2 separate regions of the Homo sapiens genome follow, and region 2 is linked to region 1. The links are contacts of gene promoters, found by promoter capture Hi-C in blood cells and fetal thymus (Javierre and others, 2016). All regions are on one chromosome and are shown on one strand. The core of a region is centred on a gene start or on the middle of the fragment in contact, and the rest is flanking DNA. Distances in the headings are between cores, read along the strand shown. Region 1 overlaps CHD8 (chromodomain helicase DNA binding protein 8). Region 2 holds the start of TINF2 (TERF1 interacting nuclear factor 2).

Evidence for each region. The method cuts DNA at HindIII sites, captures the fragments that hold promoters and counts their contacts. A CHiCAGO score of 5 or more calls a contact.
Region 2: a contact is called between the fragment with the promoter of TINF2 here and a fragment that was not itself captured in region 1, in 1 of 17 cell types (naive CD8 T cells). The highest score is 5.9, in naive CD8 T cells.

Annotation. Positions count from the first base shown.
Region 1 is chr14:21,386,785-21,390,405 of GRCh38, forward strand. All of the region lies in intron 37 of CHD8 (chromodomain helicase DNA binding protein 8), which reads right to left. All of the region lies in intron 1 of LOC107984643 (a long non-coding RNA gene), which reads left to right. Among named protein-coding and RNA genes, the nearest start is that of SNORD9, 3.7 kb to the right of the region's middle. The HindIII fragment of the contact is 7,320 bases long and covers 1-3,621 here.
Region 2 is chr14:24,241,373-24,245,283 of GRCh38, forward strand. It overlaps TINF2 (TERF1 interacting nuclear factor 2), which reads right to left and starts at 1,251. Exons shown (of 9, transcript NM_001099274.3): 1 at 769-1,251; 2 at 518-622; 3 at 303-404. The coding sequence starts at 960. RefSeq lists enhancers at 1-19, 680-899, 970-1,229, 1,400-1,699 and a silencer at 1,891-2,185. The HindIII fragment of the contact is 13,864 bases long and covers 1-3,911 here.

The sequences.
Region 1 (3,621 bases), core at 315-2,814:
GCCGAGATCGCGCCACTGCACTCCAGCCTGAGCGACAGCGAGACTCCGTCTCAAAAAAAAAAAAAAAATCACTCGTGTCTCCTGATGGCAAGTTGTTCACTTGTTCTTACTATGTGAATTGACATTTACAATAATATCCTCTATTAGCACATCAAAGCAGGGTAAATTCAAGACAGATCAGATAAAGATTTCTACATGTCTAGAACACCAAAAAACTGTCAGAAACTCCTCACTAAATTTAATAAAATAATTTTTGTTCCACATTGATAAAAAACTTACATATCTGAATTTTAAATGGCTTCTTCTAGATGTTCTGACTAAAAATTCTGATTAAGTTCATTGAAGATAGAAGTTATTCCTGCAGGTCCCAAGAATAACGTAGTGCTAGATTCACTGTCAATTCTATATTAAGAATTCTGGGCCAGGCGTGGTGGCTCATGCCTGTAATCCCAGCACTTTGGGAGGCTGAGGCAGGTGGATCACTTGAGGTTAGGAGTTCAAGACCACCCTGGCCAACATAGCGAAACTCTGTCCCTACTAAAAATACCAAAATTAGCCGGGAGTCAGCCAGGCGTGGTGGCTCACGCCTGTAATCCCAGCACTTTGGGAGGCTGAGGGCAGGCGGATCACCTGAGGTTGGGAGTTCGAGACCAGCCTGACCAACATGGAGAAACCCCATCTCTACTAAAAGTACAACAAATTAGCTGGGCGTGGTGCCGCATGCCTGTAATCCCAGCTACTGGGGAGGCTGAGGCAGAAAAATCGCTTGAACCCAGGAGGCGGAGATCGCGGTGAGCAGAGATCACGGCATTGTACTCCATCCAGCCTGGACAACAAGAGTGAAACTCTGTATCAAAAAAAAAAAAAAAAAAAAAGCTGGGTGTGGTCGTGCATGGCTGCAATCCCAGTTACTCAGGAGGCTGAGGCAGGAGAATCACTTGAACCCAGGAGGCGGAGGTTGCAGTGAGCTGAGATCATGCCACTGCACTCCAGCCTGGGTTACAGAACGAGACTCTGTCTCAAGCAAAAAAAAAAAAAAAAAAAAGAATTCTGTACTAGTCATATTAGGATTTTCTGTGATTTTCTATGATATTTCTTAAGAGTTTCAGTTGACTATAAGGGAGTAGCAGAAGTACTTGAGGTAAAAATAGGTAACAGTGAAGGAAAAGCCCTTCTTACAGGCTGCTCTATAATGTTAAATTAAAGACAGAGATGGCATTAGCCTTCTAGCCACCAGCCTTTCCCATATCAACCATTCTGTTTATTGCACTCTTGTTCTCATCGAGGCTAACAGGGAAAACTGAAACATTCTCCCATGGTAACACTTCCATTAATATAAAAATAAGCCTCATAAATCTACATATATTTTATGTTTCAAACTTGTTAAATGCAAAATATTGATAGTTTACTTTAAAATTAATTTTGTTAAAAGATATTCCATGTGGTTATATAGACACATAAATATATGTGTATGCACATAGTCAGCCTTCCATATCCATGGATTCAACCATCTGTGGATTGAAAATATTTGAAAACAACAAGAAACTAAAAAATAACAAGAGAAAATACTACAGATTTTAAAACAATACCGTGTAACAACTATTTACATAGTATTTATATTGTGTTAGGTATTATAAGTAATCAAGAGATTAAAGTGTATCAGAGGAAGTGTGTCGGTTACATGGAAATACTACATGATTTTATTTATTTATTTATTTATTTTTTGAGGCAGGGTCTCACACTCTATTGCCCAGGCTGGAGTGCAGTGGCATGATCATGGGTCACTGTAGTCTCAGCCTCTGGGCTCAAGTGATCCTCCTGCCTCAGCTTCCACATAGCTGATACTAGAGGACTGCACTACCACGCCCAGCTAATTTTTTGTAGAGATAAGGTCCCACTGGGGTCCCCAGGCTGGTCTTGAACTCCTGGGCACAAGTGATCCTCTTGCCTCAGCCTCCCAAAGTGCTGGGATTACAGGTAAGAGCCACCGCACCTGGCTCTACACCATTTTATATATAAAGGACTCGAGCATCCATGGATTTTGGTATCTGCAGGGGTCCTGGAACCAATCCCTCACAGATACCAAGGGATGACTGTATGTGTATAAAGATTTCTATAGAAGATCAAATGGGGGAATAATTAGATAAGGCAAGTATATACAAGTGCTAATCCATTTTAAATGACTCTATGTCATTTAAAACAATGATTTATGTATGCTTTAAAAATACAACTATTGACCAGGCGCTGTGGCTCACGCCTGTAATCCCAACACTTTGGGAGGCTGAGGCGGGTGGATCACAAGGTCAGTAGTTCGAGACCAGCCTGACCAACATGGTGAAACCCCGTCTCTACTAAAAATACAGAAATTAGCTGGGCATGGTTGCACACACCTGTAATCCCAGCTACTCGGGAGGCTGAGGCAGGAGAATCACTTGAACTTGGGAGGTAAAGGTTGCAGTGAGCTGAGATCAGTCCATTGCACTCCAGCCTGGGCAACAGAGCAAGACTCCGTCTCAGGAAAAAAAAAAAAAAATTACAACTATTGGCCAGGCACAGTGGCTCATGCCTGTAATCCCAGTACTTCGGGAGGCTTAGGCAGGTGGATCACCTGAGGTCGGGAGTTTGAGAACAGTCTGGCCAACATGGCAAAACCTTCTTTCTATTAAAAATACAAAAATTAGCTGGGTATGGTAGCATGCGCCAGTGGTCCCAGCTACTTGGGAGGCTGAGGCAAGAGAATCACTTGAACCGGGGATGCAGAGCTTGCCGTGAGCTGAGATTGTGGCACTGCCCTCCAGCCTGGGTGACAGGGCAAGACTCTGTCTCAAAAAAATAAAAGATTAAAAAACAAATACAACTATTGCAGAAAGTAAGGTAAGCATAGCCAAGAGAAACTTTTGCAGTTGAAATTTGGTGGAAAGAATAAACTGTGGGTACTTAGTCCACCAAATGGCCTATTATCCATCATAAAAGTATAAGTAAATTTGAAAATATAGAATAACTTAATGGACAAATTTATTATGAATTACAAAACAGTTTCCTCTGCTTTTTCCATTACTGACATATTATTAGTGATTCTCAACCTTTATATATTGGGAAATCTCATGACTATTTTCCTTAGAAGACCTCTCCAAACACTTCTAAAATATATAGAATTAGAAAACTTAAGGCCGAGTGCGGTGGCTGAAGCCTGTAATCCCAGTACTTCAGAAGGCCAAGGCGGGTGGATTACTTGAGGCCAGGAGTTCCAGAGCAGCTTGGCCAACGTGGTGAAACCTCGTCCCTACTAAAAATACAAAGAATTAGCCTGGCCTGGTGGTGCACGCCTGCAATCCCAGCTACTTGAGAGGCTGGGCAGGAGAATGGCTTGAACCAGGGGAGGGAGAAGTTGCAGTGAGCTGAGATGGTGCCACTGCACTCCAGCTTGGGTGACAGAGTGAGACCATGTCTCAAAAAAACAGAAAACTTAAGAAATTGCTTTAAAACCCTCACTTTTCAGGATGTAAAAACTGAAGAGGTTAAAGGATTTGTCCAAAATCCCTTAGTTATTCAATAGAAGAACAGAGTAAGATCTGAATGTTCTCTCTAACCCATCTTACTAATTCTTAAATTTTCATATGC
Region 2 (3,911 bases), core at 1-2,500, 2.9 Mb after region 1:
TAATCCTGGCCATTTGGGAGGCCGAGGTGGGCGGATCACTTGAGGTCAGGAGTTCGAGACCAGCCTGGCCAACATGGTGAAACCCCATCTCTACTAAAATACAAAAATTAGCTGGGCATTTGTAATCCCAGCTACTCGGGAGGCTGAGGCAGGAGAATCGCTTGAACCCGGGAGGCAGAGGTTGCAGTGAGCCGAGATTGTGCCACTGCACTCCAGCCTGGGCGACAGAGCAAGATTCCTCAAAAAAAAAAAAAAATGGGTTAGAGAAAATAGCCACATAATAGCCTTCAAACCAGTCTCACCTGCAGCTTCGAGGCCAAATCCACAGGAGCCTCTGACAGCTGCTTCACCTGCTGGTAAAAAGTTTCCTGTGCCTCCAAAATCTTCCTCAGATCCTGCTTTGTCTGTTGAGGATACAGAAGACAGAGAAGTTAGCACCAACATCCAGTAGACAGGAGGAGCAACTTTGCTGCACCAAGTGTAACTGGGGTCAGGGCTTGTTCCGGGGATTACTCACAGCCTTGGGATCCCGCACTATAGGTCCAGATTCTGGAAAGTGGTGATTCAGGGCTTTCAGGACTTGGGCCCAAGGCCGGCCCTGCAGGATCAGCTCCACCACCACCTGTACGGTACTGAATTCAGAATCCCCACTTCGGGGCAAGCTGACCTTTTCCAACTAGTCTCATCCCCAAGCTGTGGGCCCTTGTCAGGTGCTCGCATCCCGCCCCTTTCTTTCTTTCCCCTTCCAGGTCCTACTTGCTCCAATACCTTGGCCTTTAGGCCCATACAAAGGCGTTCGTGGTGCCGGTAGCGAACCAAGCCAGGGGCAACAGCGCGCAGAGATCGCAGAAACTCCAGTACTCGCGGAAAATGTTCCACGCAGCGTCCGCGCACAACCTGCCAGCTAGCCGCGGCGGCGAAGCGTAGAGCTGCGGGACCCGCCACCAGGGGCGTAGCCATGGTCGGCGGGCTCCGCCCGGAGGCGGTCCCTCCGGGTTCCTCACCCGGATGGGTGAGGCTTTCCGATCACTCCTAGGGGCGGGGCTTCTGGCAACTCCCTGTCGCTCCGGTCTGTCGGCTCTGGGTACCTCGCGATCTGACTCGGCTCCCTTCCATCGGCCCCCAGAATTCTGGGGGAGGGGGTCTTCTGGCTCGGGCTGGAGGAGCCTGAGTGGAGAAGCTGACCGTCTCCAGTGGCACTGGGTCGCTCAGCTTTAAACGTCGCCGCTGTCTCGAGCCCGAGGGTGCCTCACTTCCGGCTCCGCTACTAGCTTCCCTTGCCCCGGAAAAGGGCGGTAAGAGGGAGCCAATGGGCGGCCACAGAGGGAACCGTGACGGTGCGTCAGAAGGCCACGCCCCAGCGGAGCTGTAGCTGCCCGCTTCCTGCACTCTCTGCCGGCTGACATGAGTTGGCGGCTGAGGCTGTCGTGGCCGCTGAGGCTGTTGTGGCCGTTCGTCTGGGTCCTCCCAGCCTTGCTTTCTTCGCGGAGCCTGCGGAGAAGCCCCGTCACTCCCGTGAGGCTCGACTTCCTAGTCTGTAAAACGAGGATCATGCCACCGCCCTTTCCCACTGTCTTCACCCATCGAAATTTAGTTCTTTAAATTCCAGACCCGAGCCGGCGTCTACAAAGCCTTCCCCTCTGCGCGCGTCGCTTCCAGTAGGAATTCGACTGTTCCTTTTATAAAACAGAAGAGGGCGCCCGCCCTTAAAAAATAAAATACAGGCTGGGCGTGGTGGCTTGTGTCTAATCCCAGCGCTTTGAGAGGCCGAGGCAGGAGGGTCACTTGAGCCCAGGAGCTCCAGACAAGCCTGGGCGACATGGTGAAACCCCTTCTCTGCTAAAAGTACAAAAATTAGCTGGGCGTGGTGGCAGGCGCCTGTAATCCCAGCTACTCGGGAGGCCGAGGCAGGAGAATCGCTTGAACCCAGTAGACGGGAGGTGGCAGTGAGCCGCGATCTTGCCTCTGCATTCCAGCCTGGGCGACAGAGGGAGAATCTCTCTCAAAGAAAAAAAAAAAAAAAAAAAGAGGAAGAAGAAGAAATAGAATACAGGCTGGGGGCACGGTGACTCACACCTGTAATCCCAGCACTCTGAGAGGCCGAGAGGGGAGGATCGATCCGCTTGAGCCCAGGAGTTCCAGACCAGACTGGATCACATGGCGATAACCTGTCTCTACTGAAAATCAAAAAAACTAGCCGGGCGTAGTGGCACGCCTGTAGTCCCAGCTACTCAGGAGGCTGAGTTGGGAGGATTGTTTGAGCCAGGGAGGTTGAGGCTTCAGTGACTGCACTCCAGCCTGAGTGATAGAGTGAGACGGGGTCTCACACACACACACAAATTAGTTTCTTGTTTTAGGATTCTGTTGTGCACTGAACTTGTCAGCCCCCTAATGTAATTGACTGCTCTCCTTGACTGTCTCTTCCACAGGCTTCCTGGTGCCTCTCATTTCCATCAGCAAGCACAGAACCTAACACACAGCTTACACTCCTTAATTGTTGGCTGGATTAGTTGCCTGCCTTGACCACCTTACAAGGATTTAGTGAAACTGCTCCGTCTTTAGCCCATGTCTTCCATTCCCAGAGATAATGGTTCACACATCCTTGTCTCCGCCCCGGATCAGTCTCAGCTGATCCGCACATTCGACTGCCCAAGAAACACCCAGTCCCAAAGTACCCCAAATTGGATATGTGTGAAATTCTAGTTATCTTCCTTTTTCCCTTTATTTATTCCTTCTCTAATGTTCTTTCTTTCTTATGTAGATATGAACTTCTGTTGTTTTACTTTTTTTTTTTTTTGAGACGGAGTCTCGCTCTGTCGCCCAGGCTGAAGTGCAGTGGCGCGATCTCAGCTCACTGCAAGCTCCGCCTCCTGGGTTCACGCCATTCTCCTGCCTCAGCCTCCCGAGTAGCTGGGACTACAGGCGCCCACCACCGCGCCCGGCTTTTTTGTATTTTTAGTAGAGACGGGGTTTCACCGTGGTCTGGATCTCCTGACCTCGTGATCCGCTCGCCTCGGCCTCCCAAAGTGCTGGGATTACAAGGCGTGAGCCACCGCGCTCGGCTCTTTTTTTTTTTTTGAGGTGGGGAGACAGTCTCGCTCTGTTGCTCAGGGTGGAGTGCAGTGATCTTGGCTCACTGCAACCTCTGCCTCCTGGGCTTAAGTGATCCTCCTGCCTCAGCCTCCAAAGTAACTGGGGCTACAGGCATGCACCACCATGCCTGGCTCATTTTTTTCTATTTTTTGTAGAGACAAGTCTTTGTTGCCCAGGCTGGTCTCGAATTCCTGGACTCAAGCGATCTTCCCACCTCGGCTTCCGAAAGTGTTGGGATCGCAGGCGTGAGCCACTGCACGCAGTCCCTGGCTAATTTTTTAAAAAATCTTTTTTGGTGGGTGTGGTGGCTCATGCCTGTAATCCCAGAACTTTGGGAGGCTGAAGTGGGAGGATCACTTGAGGCCAGGAGTTTGAGACCAGCCTGGGCAATACAGTGAGACCCTGACTCTACAAAAAAAAAAAAAAAGAAAAATATGTTTTGTAGAGAAGGGGTGTCTCTCTGTGTTGCCCAGCCCAGTCTATCTTCATTTTTTGTTTTTTGTATTTATCCTGCTTGCTGCTCTCTGAGCTTCCTGGATCTGTGTTTTGTGTCTGTCATTAATTTGGGGGAAATTCTCAGTCATTATTGCCACATTTCTTATGTTCCTTTATTTTCTTCTCTGCCATTCTGATTATGTGTATGCTACAGCTTCTATAATTGTCCTACAATTCTTGGATATTCTGTTCTTTTTCATTTTTTTTTCTCATTGCATTTCAGCTTTGGAAATTTCTGTTGACATTTCTTCAAGCGCACCATGTTCTTTGGCCATGTCCAGTCTATTGATGAGCCCATCACAGACATTCATCATTTCTGTTAC